4 separate regions of the Homo sapiens genome follow, and regions 1, 2 and 4 are each linked to region 3. Evidence: promoter capture Hi-C in 16 types of primary human blood cells and fetal thymus (Javierre and others, 2016). All regions are on one chromosome and are shown on one strand. The core of a region is centred on a gene start or on the middle of the fragment in contact, and the rest is flanking DNA. Distances in the headings are between cores, read along the strand shown. Region 1 overlaps LOC105369673 (a long non-coding RNA gene). Region 2 overlaps RERG (RAS like estrogen regulated growth inhibitor). Region 3 holds the start of STRAP (serine/threonine kinase receptor associated protein). Region 4 holds the start of RERG (RAS like estrogen regulated growth inhibitor).

What was found. Contacts are between HindIII fragments. The CHiCAGO score rates a contact against its expected background, and 5 or more counts as called.
Region 1: a contact is called between a fragment that was not itself captured here and the fragment with the promoter of STRAP in region 3, in 1 of 17 cell types (total CD4 T cells). The highest score is 5.3, in total CD4 T cells.
Region 2: a contact is called between a fragment that was not itself captured here and the fragment with the promoter of STRAP in region 3, in 1 of 17 cell types (naive CD8 T cells). The highest score is 5.8, in naive CD8 T cells.
Region 4: a contact is called between a fragment that was not itself captured here and the fragment with the promoter of STRAP in region 3, in 1 of 17 cell types (non-activated CD4 T cells). The highest score is 5.5, in non-activated CD4 T cells.

What each region holds. Positions count from the first base shown.
Region 1 is chr12:15,266,555-15,269,374 of GRCh38, reverse strand. LOC105369673 (a long non-coding RNA gene) reads left to right here. Exons shown (of 3, transcript XR_007063224.1): 3 at 233-436. Among named protein-coding and RNA genes, the nearest start is that of RERG, 47 kb to the right of the region's middle. The HindIII fragment of the contact is 9,263 bases long and covers 1-2,820 here.
Region 2 is chr12:15,153,826-15,156,864 of GRCh38, reverse strand. The region is part of intron 2 of RERG (RAS like estrogen regulated growth inhibitor); the gene reads left to right. It overlaps RERG-AS1 (RERG antisense RNA 1), which reads right to left. Exons shown (of 3, transcript NR_046559.1): 2 at 2,525-2,625; 3 at 1,582-1,669. Among named protein-coding and RNA genes, the nearest start is that of RERG-AS1, 3.4 kb to the right of the region's middle. The HindIII fragment of the contact is 2,500 bases long and covers 91-2,590 here.
Region 3 is chr12:15,880,617-15,883,755 of GRCh38, reverse strand. It overlaps STRAP (serine/threonine kinase receptor associated protein), which reads right to left and starts at 1,369. Exons shown (of 10, transcript NM_007178.4): 1 at 937-1,369; 2 at 80-215. The coding sequence starts at 1,048. It overlaps LOC102724146 (a long non-coding RNA gene), which reads left to right and starts at 1,458. Exons shown (of 6, transcript XR_007063230.1): 1 at 1,458-1,976; 2 at 2,557-2,649. RefSeq lists enhancers at 1,292-1,411, 1,722-1,951. The HindIII fragment of the contact is 32,342 bases long and covers 1-3,139 here.
Region 4 is chr12:15,219,438-15,222,472 of GRCh38, reverse strand. RERG (RAS like estrogen regulated growth inhibitor) reads left to right here and starts at 1,056. Exons shown (of 5, transcript NM_032918.3): 1 at 1,056-1,278. It overlaps LOC124902886, which reads right to left and starts at 1,805. Exons shown (of 1, transcript XM_047429948.1): 1 at 495-1,805. The coding sequence starts at 1,228. The coding sequence ends at 911. The HindIII fragment of the contact is 2,404 bases long and covers 576-2,979 here.

The DNA of each region.
Region 1 (2,820 bases), core at 63-2,562, 610 kb after region 3:
TTTACTAAACCCAAAGCTAAGAAATATACTCAATGATATGAATAGAATGTGCTATGGGAATATAAACAAGAAAACACAAAATGCCATGAGACAGCAGAGAGAAAAAAGGCTTAGACACCACGATTTTGGAAAGTTTCACACATTCAGAATTTAAGAAAAAATTGAGAATTGAAATGGGTTTCATGCTCCACCCTTGACTTCTAAAAATGTTATTATCCCTCTCTGACACTAGGTGGCACTACAGATGCAGGCATGGGCAGAAACACGTGAAAGATTTGTGCCTACCTACTTATGATGGGATTCTTCTGCCTCCTGCTGCACTTTGCCTGGGGTAGCCAGACTACAGGAAGACAAATGCTGAAAGGAATAATATCAGTGGGGATTTTGTTCAGGAACAGGAATTCTATCCCAAACTTGGATTTTAATCAATATTCCTTTGATTAAAGGTACAATTTTTAAATTAAAAATTTTCAAGACTTTAAGTTTGAATTATAAATCTTATTTTATTTTTACATTTAGTAACTTTGAAAAAATGCTTTTCTGAATTTGATATGTGAGATCAAATTCTTTTTCAAACAACACCATTTTATGTATTTAATAAAATTGCCTTGGATATGTTAAACTACAATGACAACTTTAATACATCTGTATTATCTCAAATGTTTAATTGACTAAGATATATACAGATTTTATTTTAAACACTCAAATACAGATCTAACAACATCTTGCTAAGTACTGAAATTGTAGAAATTGTAAATCAAGTAAATCAGACTTACAAACATAGTAGATCAAATTCTTCTAAGCATTTCCCAATGGCTTGAGGCCCAGACCACACACACAACACATCATGATTCCCTCCCTACTAACTAGACTAAACTGGAAATGATGCTATAGGCTCTTTTGTATGGTCACATTTTTTGTTTCCAGTGAACAGGGGCTTTCTAAAACTCAGTCTTTTCCTCTGAAATTAACTGCTTAATTTTATGTTTGCAATGCTGTGCCTTTCTCCTAGGTAACCTGTCCCTGACATTCAAAGGGGATTTTCCCAGCACTTTGGGAGGCCGAGGCGGGCGGATTGCCTGAGCTCAGGAGTTCGAGCCCAGCCTGGGCAACATGGTGATACTAAAATACAAAAAAAACCCAAAAAATTAGCAGGGTGTGGCACCTGTAATCCCAGCTACTCGGGAGGCTGAGGTAGGAGAATTGCTTGAACCCAGGAGGCGGAGATTGCGGTGAGCCGAGATCATGCCACTGCACTCCAGCCTGGGTGACATAGCAAGACTCTATCTCCATTAAAAAAAAAAAAAGGAGGGGGGTGATTTTCAGGTCCTGGTGCTTATAATCCCTTTTCTATAATTATTGTGTTATCTCTTCATATAGGCCTAGTGTGTGGTGATGGAATTTAGAACTCCTTCCTTAGGTTGGTTACATCCCTTTTTACTTTCATTGTATATGTGCCTCACTCATCCACACTTTACGGACGTTTAATTAATACAAGCCTATAACTTCCCTTTTATCCTAGAGCAAGGGAAGCAAAACTGTGTCTCAAATAGACTTCCCAGCACTGGACACCAGAGTCAAGAGGCACAGGTTTGAGCCTTTGATCAAAATGGTGCCAGACATCCAAGTCTCAGCAGTTGATCCTGAAATATGGTGAACTCTTCCAGCTTTGAACTCACTTCTGCTTTCACATGTTGTCTGCCCACCATGACCAAAAGTATCAGACATTTTTGTCTGGTACCAACAGCATCAGAGACTATCAGAGATCATATTCACTCAACCCTGTAATTCTACACAGAAGGGATCTGTGGTTTCTCTGTTGACCTGGTGGGCAGTGGTGGAGTTAGGACTAGAACTCAAGTATTATTTTCTTTCTCTGCAACTCCACTTGTATGAGATGCTGGTTTATAGGGACAACTTTTGTCTTATGTAGTTATAGAATATTAAAGAGTCATTTTGTCTAATCCACTTATTACGTAAAAGAAGAATCAATTGCCCCAAGAAGAATCAATTGGCATAGCTAGTGACCTTAGGGAATGACTTGATTTTGTGAGCTTTAATGATAGCTGCTATTTATTGAAAAAGTACCATGTACTAGAAATGTAACTGCTGTTTTCCATGTATAGCAATAATATTGTGAAAAAGGTATTATTGACTAATTAACAGATTAAGTAATTGAGACAAAAAGTTAGTTAACTTCTTTAAGGTAAGAAAAGAGATGAGGAGTCCAGGCGCGGTGCCTCCCACCTGTAATCTCAGCACTCTGGGAGGCTGAGGCGGGTGGATCATCTGAGGTCAGGAGTTCAAGACCAGCCTGGCTAACATGGTGAAACCCTCTCTCTACTAAAAATACAAAAATTAGTCAGGTGTGATGGTGCACAGCGCCTGTAATCCCAGCTACTCGGGAGGCCAAGGCAGGCAAATTGCTTGAACCCAGGAGGCAGAGGCTGCAGTGAACCCAGCATGCCACTCCAGCCTGGGTGACAGAGCAAGACTCTGGGGAATAAAGATGAGGAATTAAACTAGCGTTAACTCTTCTGAACTTGAAAGCCTCTCTATTATTAGCATTTTTGTTTAGTTTTAGTTTAGCTGGATTTTTTAAAAATATAGGACTTATCAGGAGTTTATTACCAAATTGTTATGGAAGTTATTTATAATCTCTTATCTAGGTAGTTTACTGATTTTTAAGTCAAATTTCAATTGACTGTCTGATATGGTTTGGCTCTGTGTGTCCCAACCCAATTCTTCATGTTGAATTGTAATCCCCATGTGTTGGAGGAGGAGCTTGGTGGGAGGTGATTGGATCATGGCGGGGGGGCC
Region 2 (3,039 bases), core at 91-2,590, 730 kb after region 3:
GGTTTAGAGAAGTAAATAACTTGTCAAATGTGAGTAGTAGGGTTGAGATTTGCACGAAAATGCGCCTGACTTCAGGGTCTGACTTAAGCTTAAACTGCCTTGTTTTATTGATCATATTGATCACTCTATTTCTTTCTCCTGAGGACTCGCAAAGCAATGATAATACCATTCTGCTCTTGCATCATTTGTTGCACATTCTTGTTTAGAAAGAAAATACTAACAACTATTAGAGATTTTCTGAACCTAGTAATTTCATTAACAAGCATTCCCCAAGTCTACAGGGCAAATTTTTTGATACTCACAATGTTACTTCTTGTGAAAATTTTGAAGTGATTTCTGAATCATCAGAGAGATAGAGATTAAAGTGACACTGTTTTAAAAGTTGGTAATTATCATACAATTGCATGAAAGCTGATGTGGTATTTGTGGTAAACTTCCGTATTAGGATGGGTAAGCCTGTATGGCAGGGTTCTTAACCTGAACTCCAGATCCAGCAAAGGGTCCACAGGTAGATTTCAGGGGGTCTGTGAACTTGTATGGGAAAACATTTCATCTACATTTTCATGCACCCTTAAATGACATTTGGCACTGCCTTCCATGATGAATGTAGAAACAAATCACAGTGTTAGCAATACCTGTGACTTTGTCCCTAATAGAAATGATGGATATTTCCATTCGTATCAGTTGTTGCTGATATCTCAAAATGTTATTTTTCGTCATCATTAATGTGAAATCATAATTAATAAGCTCAAGACCAGATTATATTGAACATATTAATAAAGAATGTAATTACTATATCACCTATTTATTTTAAAAAATGTTTTTCTAACAGTATATCAATATTTATAAATATATATATATATTTTTTTATTATACTTTAAGTTTTAGGGTACATGTGCACTTTGTGCAGGTTAGTTACATATGTATACATGTGCCATATTTCATCATAGTTGATTTTATTTGTAATGACATATATTTTATATATATTTAAAAAGTATTATTATGAGAAATAGTTCAAAGGCTGTGCACAAATGGTTTACAGCACAAAAGGGGTGAAAGATCCAGCTCTATAATATAAACTTCATGGTAGCCCTAGTGGAGAATACCCTTGCTTAACAACTGGCTGTTTTCAGAGTCCCCTGGGGGCCCTGCAGTGACTCCAGGAGTAGAGAAAGGCTGTAAATGCTAGAACAAGATAATTGTCAGGTACTACCAAGAAGCCCTACCCAGCCTTCCCAATTAGAAGACAGGAGTCCCCCAATCCCAACCACTTTCAGGTCCTAGTTTCTGCCCAACCCCATTACCTGTTCTTCTTACTCAATTTTAATGAAAGCAGCTCTACTGGCAGCAACTTCATTGTGACCCCAGTGCTCTGGCAAGCTGGGCCTGTGTCAGCAGGCCACAGGGGTGGATGAGAGCCAAGACTTTTGTGATTGCCTCTACCCTCATTTTCCTGTGGAAACACAGCTCAGAAGGACTATGCTGGAGGGTTGATCAGCTTGGTTATGTATTTGCTTTGCGGAAACCTTAAGTTGTCCTTTTATGTGTCACTTTCTCTCATTTCATTTTTTTAATCCTTTATTTTCCAACAGGCAGGTTCTGGTCACACCTACCCAGGTGGCACCAGGTGTGTGCATGTTTTTCCAAAAGTTACAATGCAGCATAGACACTGGAAAATGAAGATGAAAAAACACAGTGGTGTTAGATTACTTCATATACTTCAACACCATGCCTGCTTTTTCCTTTTTTTAATTGCTTGTTTTATATTCTTTATTTAGTTTTTTCCAGTCTGAATATCTCTTAGCTGAGTTTCTTATCCCAATTAATCATTTTATACATACACTGGTTTCTTTTCCAAGTCTCTTTGTAAAGCAAGAATCAATATGAGGTGTCAGTGTCTAAAGCCTTCACACTTAGCAACTTAACATTTTAAAAAATGAAAATATATAATACTACAATTTCATTTAAATTAACTATTCTGAAGCTCCTCCATCAAATATTAGGAAAGACCCTTTTAAAGTTTAATACATTTTTAAAATTCTAGGTATGAAAATTCTGTTTACATAATAGTCTTTAAGTTGCTGTCTCACCTAAATAAGACACAGAGGCAGTGTTTATGAATATGATTGCCGAGTGAGATTGAGACAAATTTCAACCTACATTGATTGTCCTATTTGGCAGGAGACCAACGAGCTGCCACATAATGTACGCACCAGAAGACTGGCTATGTTCTTTGGCCATCAGCGGATGTCCATGGTTGCTGCCTATAATTGCAGTGTTTTTCCCATTCTGCAAATTTCTCATTAATCAGGTTACTTTAGCTATTTGGCCAAATTTTCCTCGAAGAAAATGAAATACAATCAATCCCTGATTCTTTTCTGATTATTAGAGACACTGCTCTCCTTCATAAGGAACAATAATCAAAGTAGAATTTATATTTGGCTTCATAATGCAATATGTGAGTTTTTCCAACAGATTTGCCCTCTTAATTGCTTTGGTCTGGCAAACTTTAAAAGGAACTTGCCTTACGTGGATGGCAGTATGAGGTTGTCCAGAACTGAACCGGGTGGTTGGCAATCTGAACAAAGCTTCTGTGCTTTATTGATTGCCAGGGAGACTCGGGGGCTAAATGGCAAGCCAAAAGACAAGGATTCAGAATATATAACTGTACTAGTTTGCTAGCACTGCCTCAACAAAGTACCACAAGCTGGGGGGCTTAAACAACAGAAATTTACTGCCTCATGCTTCTGGAGGCTAGAACTCCAAAATCAAGGCGTCAGAAGGATTGGTTCCTTCCAAAGTCTGTAAGGGAGGATCTGTTCCCTGCCTCTGTCCTAGCTTCTGGTAACCTCAGGCCGTCCTTGGCTTGCAGATGGTGTTCTCCTTATGTTTCCATATCATCTCTCTGTGTGTGTCTGTCTCTGTGTCCAAATTTCCCCATTTCATAAGAACATAGTCATATTTAATCACTTAGGGCTTACTCCAATGAAATCATCTTAGCTTGATCATCAACAAAGATCTTATTTTTAAATAAGGTCA
Region 3 (3,139 bases), core at 120-2,619:
ATCTGACACTGAAGTTTTTGATTATTTCAGGACACAAGCTACAGAGAACACCAAAGTTAGCCATCTTGGCTACACTTACGCTGTGAAATCTGCAGCTGCTGTAGCTGCTTTGGTGGCATCCTTATTCAGTGTTGCACCCCAAACAGCACCTTTATGACCCAAAAATGTTCCAATCCAGTCTCCTGTATCTCCCTGGCGTAGCATAGGTTTACCATCTAGAAAATATTTTTTAAAACATGTAATTTATAAGTTCAGATTACTTAAAGTCTAAGATTCAAATGTAAATATACAATGATGTTCAATGACAAAGTGGAAAAATTGTTTCAGCTATTTAACTACCACCACCCACTGAAGGCACTAAGGAATGTGCAGTAATAAATTAACTGAAGAGCTGAACAGATCATTCTCTCTGAAAAGCATCTGTAATTGGCTGGGAATACTGATCTGCGTCAAAACAATCTAGATTTTAGTCTTATTTTGGACAGACATCTTAGCCTGAATCTCAGTTTCCCATTTGAAAAATGAGGCTAATACCACAAAGGAATATCCAGTGAGACAAGAGCGAACGTCTTTGTAAGGTATTGCACGGCCTGGCCTAATTTCTCCTTTCCCCAAATCCTTGAAAGCTATTTACCGTGTTGTCCCGAGAGTCTAGGCAAATGCTGACCAGCTCCTTCAAAAATAGCAATAAAAATAAAATAAGGAGAGAGGTCTTAGTTGGAGGTAATAGTTTCTACAAAAGCGTCCTCTCGGCTCCAGCTGCGGATTCCCTAACACACTCCTTTCTCCACCGGACCAGTGTTGGCTCTCATCTCAGATGTTAATATCGCCCCCTCCCCCCTCACCACACCACCGCTTCGGCACTGGAGCGTGCGGGTCCCGATCCCTTTCAGCCCAGTCCCAGCCGTCGAGGACCAGGATTGCGGCCTTGCTCACCTTTGCAAGCGCTGATTAAGAAATACCCATAAGGCGTGATGCCACTGAAGGCCAAATCAACCACGGGTCGCGTGTGGCCAGAGCAGGTGAGCGGCGTCTGTCTCATTGCCATGGCGGCGGCGAAGCCAGCGACCGGACTGGCGAGCTGAGGGTCGTCGTTGTCTTTTCTCTCTTCTGCTGCAGTGCCTCGGGCTGCTCCAGGCCCCCGCCCTGACACTAGGGCTGGGCTGGGCAACAGGAAAAGAAGGGCAATCCGGTGGCACCGAGGTTAGGGAGGGGTGAGGGAGGGGTCAGGGAGTCTGCGACCAGCAAGCAACAGTCGACGAGGGAGGGAAAGGGAGGGAGGGAGGAAAGTAGGGGATGGGGAGAAGCGGAGAACCGGGCCAGCCACGATTCACAGCGTCCACACCGGCATCGGCAGGAAGTGACGACGTAAATGACGCAGAGCACCCGCCGGAAATGACGATTGGCGGGAGGGCGGGCTCGCCGGGTAGAAGTGACTTGAAGAAAGAGCGAGAAGTATAGAAGGGCGCAGGCGCTAGTTCAGTGCTCGTGAGGTAACTGGCGCTGGCCCACGCCGACTAAGGGAGACGCTCTAGGCACCGGGATGGGGTCCCTGTCCCCGAGCTCTAGCGGGTCAGAACGCCTTCCTGGTCCGCGGCCGAGTTGAAAGTTGTTCCCACTCCCATAAGTCCAAGGACCAGCGTCAGCTGTGTACCTGCCGAGCAGCCCTACTGAGGACTGTGCTCGGCCTCTGAATATCTAGACGGACACGAGCCATACCCAGTGACGGCCCAAACCAGCGAACGCTGTCTGGCAACGTTTTTTGCAATTTGTCTTATTTAAAAACCATATACGGGCTTGGAGTGGTGGTGCCTGTGGTCCCACCTACTTGGAAGGCTGAGGTGGGAGGATAACTCGAGCCCGAGAGGTCGACACCGCAGTAAGCGGTGCTCGCGCCACCGCACTCCAGCCTGGGCAACAGAGCGAGACCATGTATTAAAAAAAAAAAAAAAATCCCCAGTCATTTCTTCCGCTGTGTAAGTTTTCCTATGTTGCTAATGTTTTAGGAGTGGATACTATATAGTTTTAAATGCGATTAAATTCAAGTTACTTTTTCCTTGGTGGACTTCGGAGAACTCTAGAGTCGTAGATCCCCAATTTTTTTGATGAAATACTCTCATCCGTAAAGTGAGCCTTCACTCATTTTATAAGCGAATGAATGCTGAATTCTATCAAAAACTTTTACACCTTTTGATATGATGTATATATGAGTGATGATTTGCAAATTACATAGATGTGCATTATAATACATGGACAAAAATAGAAATATTAAAATAATATTTAAATATAAACAAACTCTGATATTGTCTGCAGCAGGCAGCCCACTGTGGCTCTGTGAAACCACCAGAGCTGTTAATTGTTGATACTGTTTCCTAACCAGGAGAGGGCTTTTCTCTGGGCAAGTTGTATCTTTATTGATAGAATGTAAACCCAATACAACAGAGATTTTTGTGTTTTCTTTGCTACTTTATCCCCAAGGTCAAAACGTCTGGGCACATAGCAATAAATATGTAATCAACATAAATGTCTGTGAATGTTTTCTTCATCTTTTTGCAGCAAACACCGTCTACAAGATTCGAGTCAAACAACGTGAGAACTTGAAATACGTCTCCATTCTTTTTCCTTAGTACTCTCGTTCATTCACTTACGGTAAAGCACTTACTATATATGTTTTTCATTTTATCTTGTTCGACTCCTCCTTTGTGCCATCCTCTCCCTTTTGTCTCACACATACGCACCACTCACACATTTATGAACTCCTTAATGGCAATGGTTATGGCTTTGTCATTTGTACTCTAGTGCCAGAAAAGTGAATGGCATTTAGTGAATACTCAGCATGACTGTTTACTGATTAAATAGATTGTTGCATTACTGATGGAGGTAAATAAAAGACCCACTCAAAATGACACAACTGGTCAGATACTGATACATGTTCATTTATTGCTCATTGTGTGTAGATAAGAATATAATTGGTAAGTTATGGTACATACTTGGCTCTAAAGAATGTATTATTTCCTGCTCATTTGGATTCTGAGTTCTAAGAGTATTGTGTATTATGACCAATTGGGTAGGCTTCAAGGTCAATTTAATATTAGAAGACAGGTTAATGTAATTGATATAATTAACAATATTAAAAGAT
Region 4 (3,035 bases), core at 528-3,027, 660 kb after region 3:
AACCATACAATGTTTGAGCTTTCTCAAAGAACCAGCAGGGCAGCTCCTGCTCAGCTAGGCAACTCCTCTTTTTGCCATAGATCTAGCTGTTCCATTCAGCCATTCACTCGTGGCTGCAGTGACCTTCCAGGTCAGTCTGGACTCTGGAAATTGCCTCCATGGTTACCTCCCTTCCCATTGATGACATTCTACAGATCGTTCAGTTTGCCCTAGGCCCCTGTCTGTTCTATATAACACTGGTTTTCTGGAAGCCGTTTGGTATCTTGGTAAGAATACCCAGATTTATAAGGGAAAAACAATAACATAAGTGCCTCCTGCTTCTTTGCTCAGATGTTTCAGTTTTTGGGAGATCATTTAGCCTCTCTGAAGCTCACCTCCTCATCTGTGAAAGGCTAGTAATTATAATACTAGTTCTTACATGAAGAGAGGGTGTAAAAATCAAATCAGATGAGGGATATGAAAGCAGGTCCAGCACAGCTCGCATATTAATTGTCTTTGTTAGGGTCTGAGCATAATGGAGTATGACTCCAATGCAAATCCTATAAATGCTGATCCTGTAAGGAGGACGAGAAGCTTTTGGAACTTTCTCAAATATATGAATAGAATTTCAATTGAATTCCTTGTTTGTTTTTCCTAGCATCTCTCAGTTCCCAATCCAGTCTGGATTTCATTCCAGCCATTTACTAGCCTTGCGTTACCTTCTCCTTCAGTTTCCTCTTGGGTATCATGGAGATAATTAAAGATACTTCAAAGAGATATTGCGAGGATCATTTGAAATAAGGAATAGAAAACACCACGTAGTGATGCTTTCTTAGGCAAGGTTTTGACCGAGGAAAGCCGCCCTTCGGTGGGAGCCTGGAGGCTTGGAAATAACCAGTGAAAAAGGGAAGCCCGTCTTGGGTGCAGCACGTTAAAGACCCAAGCTCGCAAGCCTGGGAGGCAGCGCGGCGGGAGGAGCCTGCCCCTGCCCCCAGTAGGGGGCGCCGAAGCGCCGCACTGCAGCATCCTGGCCGCTGAGCGCAGCGGCCTTGGCCGGGCTCAGCTCGCGTCCTGCCGCAGTCCCTCCGCCGCTAGTCGGAGCGAGCGCGAGTGAGGAGACCCCCGCCGGGCCACTGGCACTTGCTTCTGCGGCGAGTCCCACCCACGACCGCAGCCCAGCAACTCGCAAACGCAACCTGAAGCCTGGGCTGCGCAGTGTGGGAGGGCTTCGCGATCTTGGGGGACCCATTCCGAACTTGCAGAGGACCGTAGCTCTCCTGGCCTGGAGAGTGTGAACAGGTGAGTGTCACGCACGTGTCCAGGCAGCTCTTTCGGGACGACTTCCTGCAGACCCATTCCGAGCCCTGAGCGCGCTCGGCCTCTGAGTCGGTCCTCTTGGTCACCGGGTTCTCCTCCCAGGGCGGCTTTGGGGTTCGCTGCGAGGGAGATGTGAACACCAGCAGCCTATCTTGACAGGGCTCTCCTAGCTGAGAGGGAAAATGCCCTTTTGACTTAAGGCTGCATTTTCTCCCTAGCCTGAAAGCAAGTGACTTGCAGTCCACAATGGATTTGTTTATTCTTGCAAGATACCTGTTGAGTTCAGAGCAACATTAAATAGCCAAGGGGCTTATACAATTATCCTGGTTTGCTGTGGGTACTGCGTAGTGATAAGAAGAGGAAGAATTCCTAGTAATGAGACCAGGAAAACTTGATTTCAGAACCAGAGAAGGGGAGGCCAAAAAAGAAGAGAATCTCATTTCCAGGCCTAGACTAGGGTCTTTGCTTCCCTAAATAGCTACACTTGATTTTGATGAGCGCATGCAAACAGAAGTTCCAAGCATGATTACCTTATAAAGACGCTTGCTTGCCCCACCCCCAAGAGGAAGTAGAAAGCATGAACCTTGATAAATATAGCCTTGAGAATGATTTATTAGGAATGAAAACTTTCTTTAAATAAGTAAGTAAATAAGGTTACAGTTATCTAAATATCATAGGTCTAACAGAGTGTAAGCTCTTCGAAGGGAACTACTTTTATTTGTATGTGCATAGCGTGAAAGTGTGGAATAAATCAATGAATGCATCACTAATAATACAGGATTTTAGCTAGCGTTTTTCCTTTTTCCTTTAATTTATGTTTAGGGAAAAAAAAACCTACACCTTCAAACTAAATAGGTATGATTTTACCTTTAGAGTGATAGCAGCTGAGATGTTTTTGTCCTAATAAGCACCATCCACATAAAAAGTGAATGGCAAATTTCAGCCCTACTCAGAATATTTCAGCAGAACATTAGGACAAATGGATTTTCTTAGATCCACGTATGGAAGCTCTCAGATTATGAATTATTTGGAACATCAGAAACTTGGCAACAGTTTACTTATTACAACAATTTACATATTTATTTTTGTTTTCTATCTTGTCAAATGTAACTTTTCACATTTTCATGTGAGAAATAAAATGTTGAAGAACTCCTGTCAGTTTTGTGTCTTCCTTTAAGTGATTTTTCTAAACATAAAATTAGGTTGACAATAACCAGCTGTATCTTTATTAGGTTATAAATGGAAAAAATAGCCCACACAATTTCTCTTTCTTATGTGAAATTCCTATGCCTCTGGGGCCATTTGGGAGTTACTAAAAAATGTGACTTGTCATTTTTTTAAAATCACATTTGATGGCTACTTTCATGAAACATTAATCAGACAGATAATTACTTGCATTTTATATCCATGTATATGAACAGTTTTGCATGAAACAAAATTATTGTTTATACTAGCTGCAGACACTTGCGTGTTCAATGTTTCAAAGAAATACTTGCCAGCACCTCTTCTCATTTATAATTTAAATAGTTAATATATCTCCACATATTATGTTTCTGTGATGAAGCCCTGAACCTTAAAAACATAGGGCCTTTTCTTAATGAATGCATCTAAAGTGACAAATAAGGAAATCTTTTTATCTTTAGCCAAAAATATGGGACTGGACAAATTGCAGATGTTTAAGCTTCTGGTTTTTGCTAATAATGATTACTTAGACACTTTGTCATTATTGAGGATGAAGT